Regions from separate parts of the Homo sapiens genome. Here all the other regions are linked to region 3. The links are contacts of gene promoters, found by promoter capture Hi-C in human tissues and cell types (Jung and others, 2019). All regions are on one chromosome and are shown on one strand. The core of a region is centred on a gene start or on the middle of the fragment in contact, and the rest is flanking DNA. Distances in the headings are between cores, read along the strand shown.

Region 1 (3,730 bases), core at 2-2,501, 57 kb before region 3:
TCTTCAGAGGTGATTTTAAATGCTATGGCCAATATTTGGACCTTTCTAAGGATTTGCACGCCCTCAGATATGGAGAAGGCAGGACGGGGCTGGGGAGAACTCCTTTCTTTTTCCTTGCTCTCTCAGGGTGTAAAAACCCACAGTCTGGCCGAGTGCAGCTTGGCTCAGGCCTGTAATCCCAGCACTTTAGGAGGCCAAGGCAAGAGGATTGCTTAAGCCCAGGAGTTTGAGACCAGCCTGGGCAACATGGCAAAACCCTTTCTCTACAAAAAAATACACAAATTAGCCAGGTGTGGTGGCATGTACCTGTAGTCCCTGCTACTGGGGAGGCTGAGGTGGGAGGATTTGAGCCTGGGGAGGTCAAGGCTGCAGTGAACCATGATTACCTTACTGCACTCCAGCACTCCAGCACTCCAGCCTGGGCAGCAGAGTGATTCTGACTCAACAAAAAACAAAAAAAGCCTGCAGTCTTAGCTATATGAAATTCCAGTTTCATCGCTGTGGAGTGAGGCTGGGCTGTGGTTGATAACCACTGATTAGACTCTTGCTTCCTAAAAAGGTGGCAGAGGGCCAGCTCTCCCAGCCAAAGGTGTCTTAAGCTGTGGATCTGTCAGAGCTACCCAGCCCTCCAAGGTGAGGTTAGGCCCTGAGTTTTGGAGCCAGACAGGATTTATATTCTAGGTTCTTTACTTACTAGTGGTGTAGTCCTGGGCAAGTTACATCTGTAGGCCTTGGTTTTCTCTCCTGTAAAATGGAAATAATAGTGCTACCCATCTTGTGAGGTTAATACTGGGATTAAATGAATTAATAGGTGTAAACACTGAGAGACAAGTCTGACGTATGTCAAGAAATGTTAGTGTTTGAAGGAGATTGGTTCCAAGACCCCCTGCAGATACCAAAGTTCCAGATTGCTTAAGTCTCATACAGTAAATAGTGTAGTATTTGCATAGAACCTGCACACATCCTCCCTTTAAATCATCTCTAGATTACGTACAATACCTAGTACAATGTAAATACTATGAAAATAGAAAATAGTGTGACACTGTTGTTTCTTGTTTTTTGTTTTTTGTTTTTGTTTTTGAGACGGAGTCTCTGTCACCCAGGCTGGAGTGCAGTGGTGCAGTCTTGGCTCACTGCAACTTCCGCCTCCCAGGTTCAAGTGATTCTTCTGCCTCAGCCTCCTGAGTAGCTGGAACAACCGGAACATGCCACCACACTCAGTTAATTTTGTTTTTTTTTTTTGGGACGGAGTCTCGCTCTGTTGCCCAGGCTGCAGTGCAGTGGCGTGATCTCGGTTCACTGCAAGCTCCGCCTCCCAGGTTCGCGCCATTCTCCCGCCTCAGCCTCCCGAGTAGCTGGGACTACGGGTGCCCGCCACCACATCCCACACCCAGCTAATTTTTGTATTGTTAGTAGAGACAGGGTTTCACCATGTTGGCCAGGCTGGTCTCCAACTCCTAACCTCAGGTGATCCGCCCGCCTTGGCCTCCCAAAGTGCTGGGATTACAGGTGTGAGCCACTGCGCCTGGCCCCTGTATTTTAAAATTTGTATTATTATTATTTTAATCCATGGTTGGTTGAATCCATGGATGTGGAATTCTCAGATACAGAAGGCTAACTATAATTGTTATCCTTATCCTTTGTCCAAAACATTTAGAATTTGAGAAAAAGAGAAGAGCCCAGAGGCCATAGGGAAAATATGCCACCTTTCTGGAAGCCAGTGGAACTGAGTCCTCCACAGGGAAGAGAATAAAATGGGGATATGTTCTGTGACTGGAGACTGACCCGCTCAATCCAGGCATTGCAGACCTTCATGTCACCAAGGAGGTGTCCAGGCCTCTGTGGAGGGACGGAAGGAGCTGGTGTCCTGCTGCAGGACTGTTAGGCTCAAGTCTGGGTCCTAGGGTAGAGAAGAGGGGTGGACGAGGGGGCCAGGGCTTCAGCCCAGGCCTCTGCACCCACCATCAGGCCCCAGCTGTTTTTCCCAGGAGTGTTTCTTCTCCTCTCATTAATGGGGATTTCACAGCCAGCTTCAACTCCGCTTTTCCATTTGTAAGCCAGAAAGATGCCAAATCAAGGGAGGAGAGAGCCAAGCTGCTAGGAAGGAGCCACGGCAGGTGGAGACTTTGCTATTTTACACTCCTGTATAGTCCTAAAACACTTTTGCTTTTCACAGCATTTCACATCCATTTCTTATTAGCTCCTCCCACTCTCCCCCTAAGTAGTTGGGACAGACTCTGTCCCTGTTACAAAGATGAGCAAATGGCAGTGATGCAGCCAGACTCAGAACCCATTTTCTTTTCTTTTTTTTTTTTTTTTGAGACGGAGTCTCGCTCTGTCGCCCAGGCTGGTGTGCAGTGGCGTGATCTCGGCTCACTGCAACCTCTGCCTCCCAGTTCAAGAAATTCTCCTGCCTCAGCCTCCTCAGTAGCTGGGATTACAGGCGTCCGCCACCACGCCCAGCTAATTTTTGTATTTTTAGTAGAGACAGGGTTTCACCATGTTGGTTAGGCTGGTCTCGAACCCCTGACCTCATGATCCACCCGCCTCAGCCTCCCAAAGTGCTGGGATTACAGGCATGAGGCACTGCACCTGGCCCCAGAACCCATTTTCTAGATATTCTTTCTCCCAAGAAGACAGTGAAAGAGAGCTGGGCATCTGTGGAAAGGGCAGCAGCTTTATAAGAGAGACAGGTTCTGGGCTGGGCGTGGTGGCTCAAGCCTGTAATCCCAGCACTTTGGGAGGCTGAGGCGGGCGGATCATGAGGTCAGGAGATCGCGACCATCCTGGCTAACACGGTGAAACCCCATCTCTACTAAAAATACAAAAAATTAGCCGGGCATGGTGGCAGGCGCCTGTAGTCCCAGCTACTCGGGAGGCCGAGGCAGGAGAATGGCGTGAACCCCGGAGGCGGAGCTTGCAGTGAGCCAAGATTGCGCCACTGCACTGCAGCCTGGGCGACAGAGCGAGACTCTGTCTCAAAAAAAAAAAAAAAAAAAAAGTTCTGTAACATCAAAGGCCATGTGTTGCCTATAAAACATAATTTTGGGCCGGGCGCGGTGACTCATGCTTGTAATCCCAGCACTTTGGGAGGCTGAGGCGGGTGGATCCCCTGAGATGAGGAGTTGAAGAGCAGTCTGGCCAACATGGCGAAACTCCATTTCTACTAAAAATACAAAAAAATTAGCCGGGCGTGGCGGCTCATGCCTGTAATCCCAGCTACTCAGGAAGCTGAGGCAGGAGAATCACTTGAACCCAGGAGGCATAGGTTGCAGTGAGCTGAGATGGCCCCACTGCATTCCAGCCTGGGCGACAGAGACCCCGTCTCCAAAAAAAAACAAAAAACAAATAAAAAAAAAAAAACCGTTAATTTTGTGTAGTTCTAGCAATACAGAGTAAATTTGTTGGTATAATTTCTGAAATAAATTTAGGCCAGCTTGATTGCAGGCATTTTTTCTCCCAGGGGAAAAAAGGGATTACGCTGCCTAGATTCAGATTCAGCGTTTAATGAGCACCTTCTGTATGCTTCGCACTATGCCAGCTTGCCAGACGTCATCTTGTATAGCTCTCACAAAAGACCTGAGAGTAGCTGTGATTACCCGCTTTTTGTCGGCGAGGACACTGAAGGTCAGGAAAATGGAGAGATGGGCTTTTTGCTGTCACTGCAGGGAACAAGGCAGGAAGAAGCAGCCTAATTGCAGGTTAGGGTTTTAAGTCAGGCTACTGGGAC
Region 2 (3,884 bases), core at 1,207-3,706, 40 kb after region 3:
GCGGTGGCTCAAGCCTGTAATCCCAGCACTTTGGGAGGCCGAGGCGGGCAGATCACGAGGTCAGGAGATCGAGACCATCCTGGCTAACACAGTGAAACTCCGTCTCTACTAAAGATACAAAAAAAAAATTAGCTGGGCTTGGTGGCGGGCGCCTGTAGTCCCAGCTGCTTGGGAGGCTGAGGCAGGAGAATGGCGTGAACCCGGGAGGCAGAGCTTGCAGTGAGCCCAGATCGCGCCACTGCACTCCAGCCTGGGCAACAGAGTGAGACTCTGTCTCAAAAAAAAAAAAAAAAAAAAGAAAGAAAGAAAGAAAGAAAAAGAGGCAAATGCAAAGATGGTGATGAAGAGGCTTCAAAGATGAAATCCTTTCAGGATCATGGCTCTCATCCCTCCAGAAATGTTTATATCTAGGGACAGGGAAGAAAGGAGGATGAGTTCAGATTGTGATAACTAAGATAATCACTAAGATGATTGTAGCCCTACATTACAATTCTCAATGTCAAACCCTGGAGATGAAGAGGTCTAACATTTAGCCCAGAACCTTTCCAGTGATGAAAACAAACAACGACTCTTTTGGCATTGGTCTGATATTCAGTGACAGAATAAAGTTTGTTCCAGCCGAAATTAGCAGGCTAGGGTCCAGGTTAAAATGCAAACAAAGAAAGCAGCCCAGAGGCAGCTGGGATTCTGGGACACAGATAAGTCACAAAGCTGGGTTTATCTGCAGGGTTCAGGATTGATCAGCTCAGCGTATATTTCCAAGGCTCTTCTCTACTCAGCCACCCCTCCCAGCTCAAAAAACAAGAGGCCCACACCAAAATATAAAAAGGTGCTGGATCTAAAATCCTGCCTAATTTAAGCTCTGCTCACAAAGGAGGCCAGAGAGCAGAGGGAGGGGTGGAAATCAAATAAGTAAATGTCAGCCCTGCAGTTGGGTAGAAGCCATTAGCCAGGCAGAGCATCCAATTAGAAGCCATTGAATTAGAGCAGTGAAAGAAGGGCCTCACGTCAGAGGGCACTGCGGGGAGGGCCGGCACAAGTGGGCAGGAAGGAACGCGGGGTGGCGATCAATGGAGGATTACCGGAAGATGTGCAAATGGCAGGAACAGATGCCTTCCAAATGACAGGGCACCCGGTCCAGATACTCTACATAAAATGCCCACATGGTTCCTTTGTCCTCCCCCAAATCCTGTCTGAGGGAGTCCAGCCATCTCATGGGCTATTTTGGAAAACACTGCTCCCTTTTGCCTCAACCCAGAGATAAAATGGGCAGCTCTCAGCCACTCTCGGATTAATCTGAACAGACAAAGAAGGGGAGCAAATCCCTTGGCAAATGGTGCCTGGGAGATTTCATTTTTCCGCTTTGCAGTACAAACCTACTCAAACAGATACTAAAATACAAAGCGAAGTTTGTTCACATGGAGATGTTTTTATTTAAAACTATAATATTATTTTATTTTGTAATCAGTAATTGTCAATGCTCAATCTTTTTTTTTTTAACAAATTCTTATTTCCTTGTTCAGAGAAGAAAAAGATTCACATTTCCTTCCTTTCTCCTAAATTAGAAGATTTCAGATTCAGTCTCTTAGAAGCCACGTAATTTGCCTGTGATGCCCATGTCCCACTGATCCTAGAACTTTAGGGAGAAAAGTCCACTGTGAAAATAAAAATAGAAAGTAGTTCTGATTTAGGACAATCGAGTCTTACATATTCATTTAACAACCAGCTAATGGCACCTCCTGAGTACGCAGCATGAGCTGGCAGAGCACATTGGTCTGGTGCTCAGGAAGCTTCCAGGCTCAGGCAGGGTTAAGACACAAGGCTAGCCTCTGCAGAGTGGAAGGAAGCATGTGTTACGGGACACACAATGGGTCTGCTCTTTGCGCTTTGGGAGTGGAGAGGAAGAAGTAATCATAACTATCAGAGGATGCCAGAGAAGACCTTGTGGGAGAGAGGGTCTTTGAGCAGGGCCTTTGAAGAGGTGTCAGATTTGGGTCAAAATGAGTCGGGGGCATTCCAAGAAGATACAGTGCATCGATGTTGCAGACTGGAATGTGGTTGAGACTAACTGTAGGGCTACCAGATACAACAGAGGATGCCCAGTTAAATCTGAATATTTAGGATATCCCAAAAAACGATTTGTTGTTTAAAATTAAGATTTAAGTGAGTATCTTTTACCCACTGTCTATTTTTTACCCCGTCTATTATTCCTAGAAATTTCTCTTTGTTTTTGGTAGAGTTGGGATCTCACTTTGTTGCCCAGGCTGGTCTTGAACTCCTGGACTCGATTGAACCTCCCACCTCAGCCTTCCAAAGTGCTGGGATTACAAGCATGAGCCACCACGCCCGGCCCAACATTTTTATTTCCTGAATCTGGCAACCTCATGACAAGAGCAAATGACCACTCTCATACTTGGAGTTTCCTGCAGCCTGCCCAACTCCAAAGTTGCCTTGTGAGTTCTGAAAGGAACTGGGAATGGCAGCCCTTGCTTGGATGTCATGTCAGAGGACTAGGCACAGTGGTTGACACCTGTAATCCCAGCTCTTGGGAGACTGAGGCAGGAAAATGCTTGAAGCCAGGAGTTTTAGACAAGCCTGGGCACCATAGTGAGACACCTGCAACACCTCCCACCCCCAATCTCTATCAAAAAAAATTAGCCAGGGACAGTTAAATGTGCGTGTAGTCCTAGCTGCTCAGGAGGCTGAGGCAAGAGGATCACTTGAGCCCAGGAGTTCAAGGCTGCAGTGAGCTATGATCACACATCATTGCATTCTAACCTGGGAGATAGAGTGAGACCATGTCTCTTAAAAAAAAAAAAAAAAAAAGAGCGGCGCTTCTCAGAAGGCAGTAGAGAGACCTTGAAAGTTTTTGAGCCAAGAAGTGAAGTGATCAGAGCAGTGTTTGGAATATTAATCTGGCAGCAGCATAAACAGTGTTTAGTCCAGGAGAAGAGTTTCATGATAAGGAGATCACATAGTCTTCCTTTGTGATTATTTGTGGGGCACCCACTATGTGCCAGACACAATGCTAAACACCAGGGGCATGATGGTGAAAAAGAAATGTATAGTTCCTCTCTTAGTGAAGCTTATGAATAAATTAACAAGCAATTGATTTCAATAAAGGGAGGTGCATTTCATCAGAGAAGAACTTGGCCTACTTAGAAGATTATCAAAATAGCCTACTGGTGAGAAGATGAGGACCTAAATTAGGGTCATGGAAATGGGAATGTAAGATGTTTTTGCAAAGCGAGATTTTAGAATATATTCAGGACATGATCAAGTGATTTGACTCTTAATTACAAGCATAGTTGGAGCAGGAGAAAAACAGATCATTAAAATCCAGAGATAACCCCAAATGCCAATTACTCAGGCGTTTCATGCTTCTCTCTCATCCATGGGTTATGACTGTATTTGTGTCTTTATGCACACACAAAACAGTAAAGCATAGTGGTTTCGAGAAAGAGCTTCAAAGACCTAAATGTAAGAGCTAAAACTATACAACTCTCCGGAGAAAACATAAGCATAAATCTTAATGACCTTGGAGTAGGCAATGTTTTCTTAGATATGACAGGAAAGCGCAAGCAACAAAAGGAAAAAATAGATACGTTGTAGCATGTATCAGTACTTTCTTTTTTGCCTAACAATATTTCATTGTATGAATATTCCATGTTTTATTTATCTATTCATCAGTTGACAGGATTTCTTTTAGGGCTGATAAAATGTTCTAAAATTGATTGTGGTGAGGGTTGCACAAATCCATTTGGCAAAAGCCATTGAATTGTACATTTTAAATGGCTGAATTGTGTGGTGTGTGAATTATTTCTCGACAAAGCTGTGTTTCTTTTTAAAGAGCAAAGCCTTGAGCATCAGATAGATATGGGTTC
Region 3 (3,985 bases), core at 906-3,405:
CCAGCTAAGCCCCTGACAAAGCCTGGGTCCAACAGCCTCAAGCCTGGAGCCTCACCGGGCCCTCACACTTTGCAGAAAGAGAAAGAAAAGGCAAGCCAGGAAGTACATGATTGCCCAATAGCTGTAACCTGGCAGCAGGCAACTGGGGACTGTGCCAGGCGATAGCAGGAAAAACATACTCGGTCCTATTGATGGGGCCATAATCTACCCCTTTCTCCAACATCCACTCTCCTTCACCAATGAAATGACTTCTTGAATTTCAAACCAGCTACTGGCTGCAAAAGCAAACACAATCTGGGGAAGTAACTGCTGATGTAGCCAATAGGGCAAACCATACACACACACACACACACACACACACACCCCCTCACAACCAGCACCCAACTGGATTTGGCAAAACATAATAATGCCTAAACCACCTGCTCTAAAAGGCTTGTTAAAATATACATTATATGGCCCTATCCTAGACCTTCAGAATAAATTACTCTGGGTGTGGAACCAGAGAATGTAAGTATTTTAAACAAACATCCCAGGTGATCCTTACGTACTTTAAACTCAAGTTTGAGAACCAGTTAACCACTGCTAACTAACTTTTGACAAATTTGCCATCCTTTCTGGGCTGCCCTTTCCAGAAATTCTCACTGCAAGTTCTTTTTTTGTTTGTTTCGTTTTGTTTTGTTTTGTTTTGTTTTTGAGACGGAGTCTCGCTCTGTTGCCCAGGCTGGAGTGCAGTGGCACGATCTCGGCTCACTGCAAGCTCCGCCTCCTGGGTTCAGGCCATTCTCCTGCCTCAGCCTCCCGAGTAGCTGGGACTACAGGCGTCCGCCACCACGCCCGGCTAATTTTTTGTATTTTTAGTAGAGACGGGGTTTCACTGTGTTAGCCAGGATGGTCTCGATCTCCTGACCTCACGATCCGCCCGCCTCGGCCTCCCACAGTGCTGGGATTACAGGCGTGAGCCACCGCGCCCGGCTATCTCACCGCAAGTTCTATGTGTTAGGAGCAATATAAGTTCATATTTCGATCTTATTCAATCCTCACAGCAGCTTGTGAGGCAGGCTGTGTTTTCTACAGTTCTGCAAAAGGGGAAACAAAGTACAGAGATGAAGGAAATTGCCCAAGGTCACACAGACTGCTAGACTCCTACGCTCGCACCAAAGTAACAGGGCATGTTCTTGAAAAGGCCCCCAAACCGAAAGGTGTCTCTGGTACAGTGGACCTGGTTTCACATTTTCCAGAATCAAAAACTCATCATAATGAAATTTCAACTAAATTTTAGAGCTGGAAAGGACCTAAATGTCAAAACCCACCCCGTGCCAGAGCTCCAGTGTGCTGGGTTGCCAGATTCTTGGAGTTGGGGAAATCCACACCTCATCCATTCATTCAACCACACACATATTTACCAAATACCTATTAAGATGGGGTGCCTTCTACTTCCTCTTTCCATTGCACTCTATTGAACAGTCTTTTCCCAGCAAAACTCAACTTAAGTCCCATCCATCTTATCCCAGGACACGACACGATTCGTTTTTCCGCGCCAACTATCCATAGCCTCCCTTTTATTTGGCAATCATCACAGCAGTACGGTGTTGCTGGCTGGGGTTCGCAAGTTTGCGACCACTGTCCCTGCAATCACGGACTGACACATCTGCCAGGGACACCCCGCAGTAGCCCCGCAAGCTCAGCGCGGTAAAGACCACGCTGGCCTCTCCGCCGAGCAACGAGCGAGCCGCCGCCCGCCCTCCTCCGCTCCCTGCCGGCGGCCAAGCCGGAGCCCGCCCCGCGCCGCGAGAGGGAGCCGCACTCACCAGGCGCCCCGAGCTCTCCCGCGCCTTCTTCACCTTCCCGTAGGTGCCTTTGCCCAGGGTCTCCAGGAACTCGTAGCGGTGCCGCAGGTTGTGCTTGTGGTGGTGCCGCTTCACCGCCTGCTTCTTCATTAGGGGCTTGGGCGACTTGATCAGCCCTTCCGCCAGCGGCCGGGCTAGCTCTGCGGCCGAGGGAGTGGGGCCGGAGCGCCGCGCGAAAACCAGCGACTCCATGGCGAGCAGGAGGTGAGCAAGGGCGGCAGGGGAATCAGTAGGCTGTGCGGGGAGGGCTGAAGCGCGGGGCACAGGTCCCGCACCAGGACGGGGAGCCACAGCAGTACCAGAGCGCGCAGTAAAGCACAGCATTCCAAGTTGTTATAAACGCCCTGAGCCCGAGGCCCTGGACACGCCCCCCGGCGCCCATTGGCCTGCTCGACGGCGGCGCGTGACCACGGCCGTCCACATTGGCTCTCCGGGGCTCCAGGCCCCGCCTCCTCCCCCTCGGCGTGGCCGGGAAAGGTGTCAATGGAACCCGCCCACCAGGAATGGGGACTAGGGGATTCCAGCGAAGGCCGCCTGAGGCCCAGAAGCTTACTCTGAGGGCCCTTGGAGCTGCACTTGCCTCTGAGTGGCGCTTGGTCCTGCTTAATGCCCTGTTGTTTTATTGTACTCTGTTCTCAGTTGGCAAGGGGCGATCTGAGGGCACTAAAGGTCACCAAAGTATTTCTTCATCCTGAGTAATTTGCTTGTCCCAAGCCAAAATCTATAATTGCTTGACCACTTCATTGAGTCCATAAAGGAGAAAGGGAGCTGGGATGGAACAGAGGCAGAATCCAGCCTAGTGGGAGGGTTAGTGCAGAGCTGTCCTATGGTTCGAGTTCACTTGTCTTCAGTTAGATCAACCTTACTTGGATATTGGAATCCAATGGCCCTGGAAACTTCTTCCTTCTTCCTCAAAGAGGGCTTCTTAGGCGAATCGCTTGAGGTCCAGGAGTTCAAGACCAACCTAGCCAACATGACGAAATCCCATCTCCACTAAAGATACAAAATTAGCCGGGCGTGGTGGTGCGCGCTTGTAATCCCAGCTACTCTGGAGGCTGAGGCAGAAGAATCGCTTGAACCCAGGAGGCAGAGGTTTCAGTGAATCAAGATGGCGCCACTGCACTCCAGCCTGGGCAACAAAGTGAGGCTCCGTTTCAAAAAAAAAGAGGGCTTCTAAGGTTTAGTAGATTCCCTCAACCACTTAGTGGAATTTATTTAGGATGTGTCGGCTGGAGGTGGAGAGAACCCGAAGGGATACATATTTATTTAACATTTTTACATGCCGACTATCTAACCTGTGTCCCTAAGTCTGAAAATGGTTGCTCCACCCAAGGTTTTCTTGTGATTTTGGTGCCAGGAGCACTGGTGGTAGGTTATGAGGTTTGACTTGAGACGGAGTCTCCCTCTGTCGCCCAGGCTGGAGTGCAGTGGTGCGATCTCTGCTCACTGCAAGCTCCGCCTCCCGGGTTCACGCCATTCTCCTGCCTCAGCCTCTCCGAGTAGCTGGGACTACAGGCGCCCGCCACCACGCCCGGCTAATTTTTTGTATTTTTAGTAGAGACAGGGTTTCACCATGGTCTTGATCTCCTGACCTCGTGATCCGCCCGCCTCGGCCTCCCAAAGTACTGGGATTACAAGCGTGAGCCACTGCGCCCAGCTTGACTTAGTTTTTGAGGCCTGGAGTTGCTAGGTCCAGAATCTCCACTCTGAGTGCTCATTTACAGTGAAATGAGAATGGCCATAGGTTTTCCTTCTTGCTTTAAATGGCAGAAAGGGAACATTTCCCCTTTGGCCATCTTGATAACCTAATCCTGTGAAATGAGTATTATTCTGTCCAAGGCCACACAACTGGTAATAAAGTGGCGGGATTTAGACCCTGGTCCTGAGGAAGAGAATAGAGGACAATAGACCTGGATCCTCTTCCCTGAGGGAAACCCCTTCTGCCAGCCAGTTTAGGGCCCTGGATGGATTCTAGCTATGCTGGAGAGCCAGCCTTCCCCTCAGGCCTTCAGGAGGATGGTGCCTCCCCTGTGTATCCAGGGCATGCTGAGGATGGAGAAGGACCCACCCCCAGTGGCTGCCCACTTTTCTACTTCCACTGATCCTTTGATTATTTTTCTAGTGTGAGTTACAGATGT

The links. Contacts are between HindIII fragments. The study calls those that stand out against the background at their distance.
Region 1: a fragment that was not itself captured here is called in contact with the fragment with the promoter of NUAK2 in region 3 in 2 of the 25 tissues and cell types used here (hippocampus and neural progenitor cells).
Region 2: a fragment that was not itself captured here is called in contact with the fragment with the promoter of NUAK2 in region 3 in 2 of the 25 tissues and cell types used here (neural progenitor cells and ovary).

The regions. Positions count from the first base shown.
Region 1 is chr1:205,263,261-205,266,990 of GRCh38, forward strand. All of the region lies in intron 2 of TMCC2 (transmembrane and coiled-coil domain family 2), which reads left to right. Among named protein-coding and RNA genes, the nearest start is that of TMCC2-AS1, 28 kb to the left of the region's middle. RefSeq lists an enhancer at 5-702. The HindIII fragment of the contact is 8,685 bases long and covers 1-3,730 here.
Region 2 is chr1:205,359,291-205,363,174 of GRCh38, forward strand. No RefSeq gene overlaps it. Among named protein-coding and RNA genes, the nearest start is that of KLHDC8A, 4.3 kb to the left of the region's middle. The HindIII fragment of the contact is 3,306 bases long and covers 804-3,884 here.
Region 3 is chr1:205,319,590-205,323,574 of GRCh38, forward strand. NUAK2 (NUAK family kinase 2) reads right to left here and starts at 2,156. Exons shown (of 7, transcript NM_030952.3): 1 at 1,809-2,156. The coding sequence starts at 2,039. RefSeq lists a silencer at 1,663-1,842. The HindIII fragment of the contact is 16,843 bases long and covers 1-3,985 here.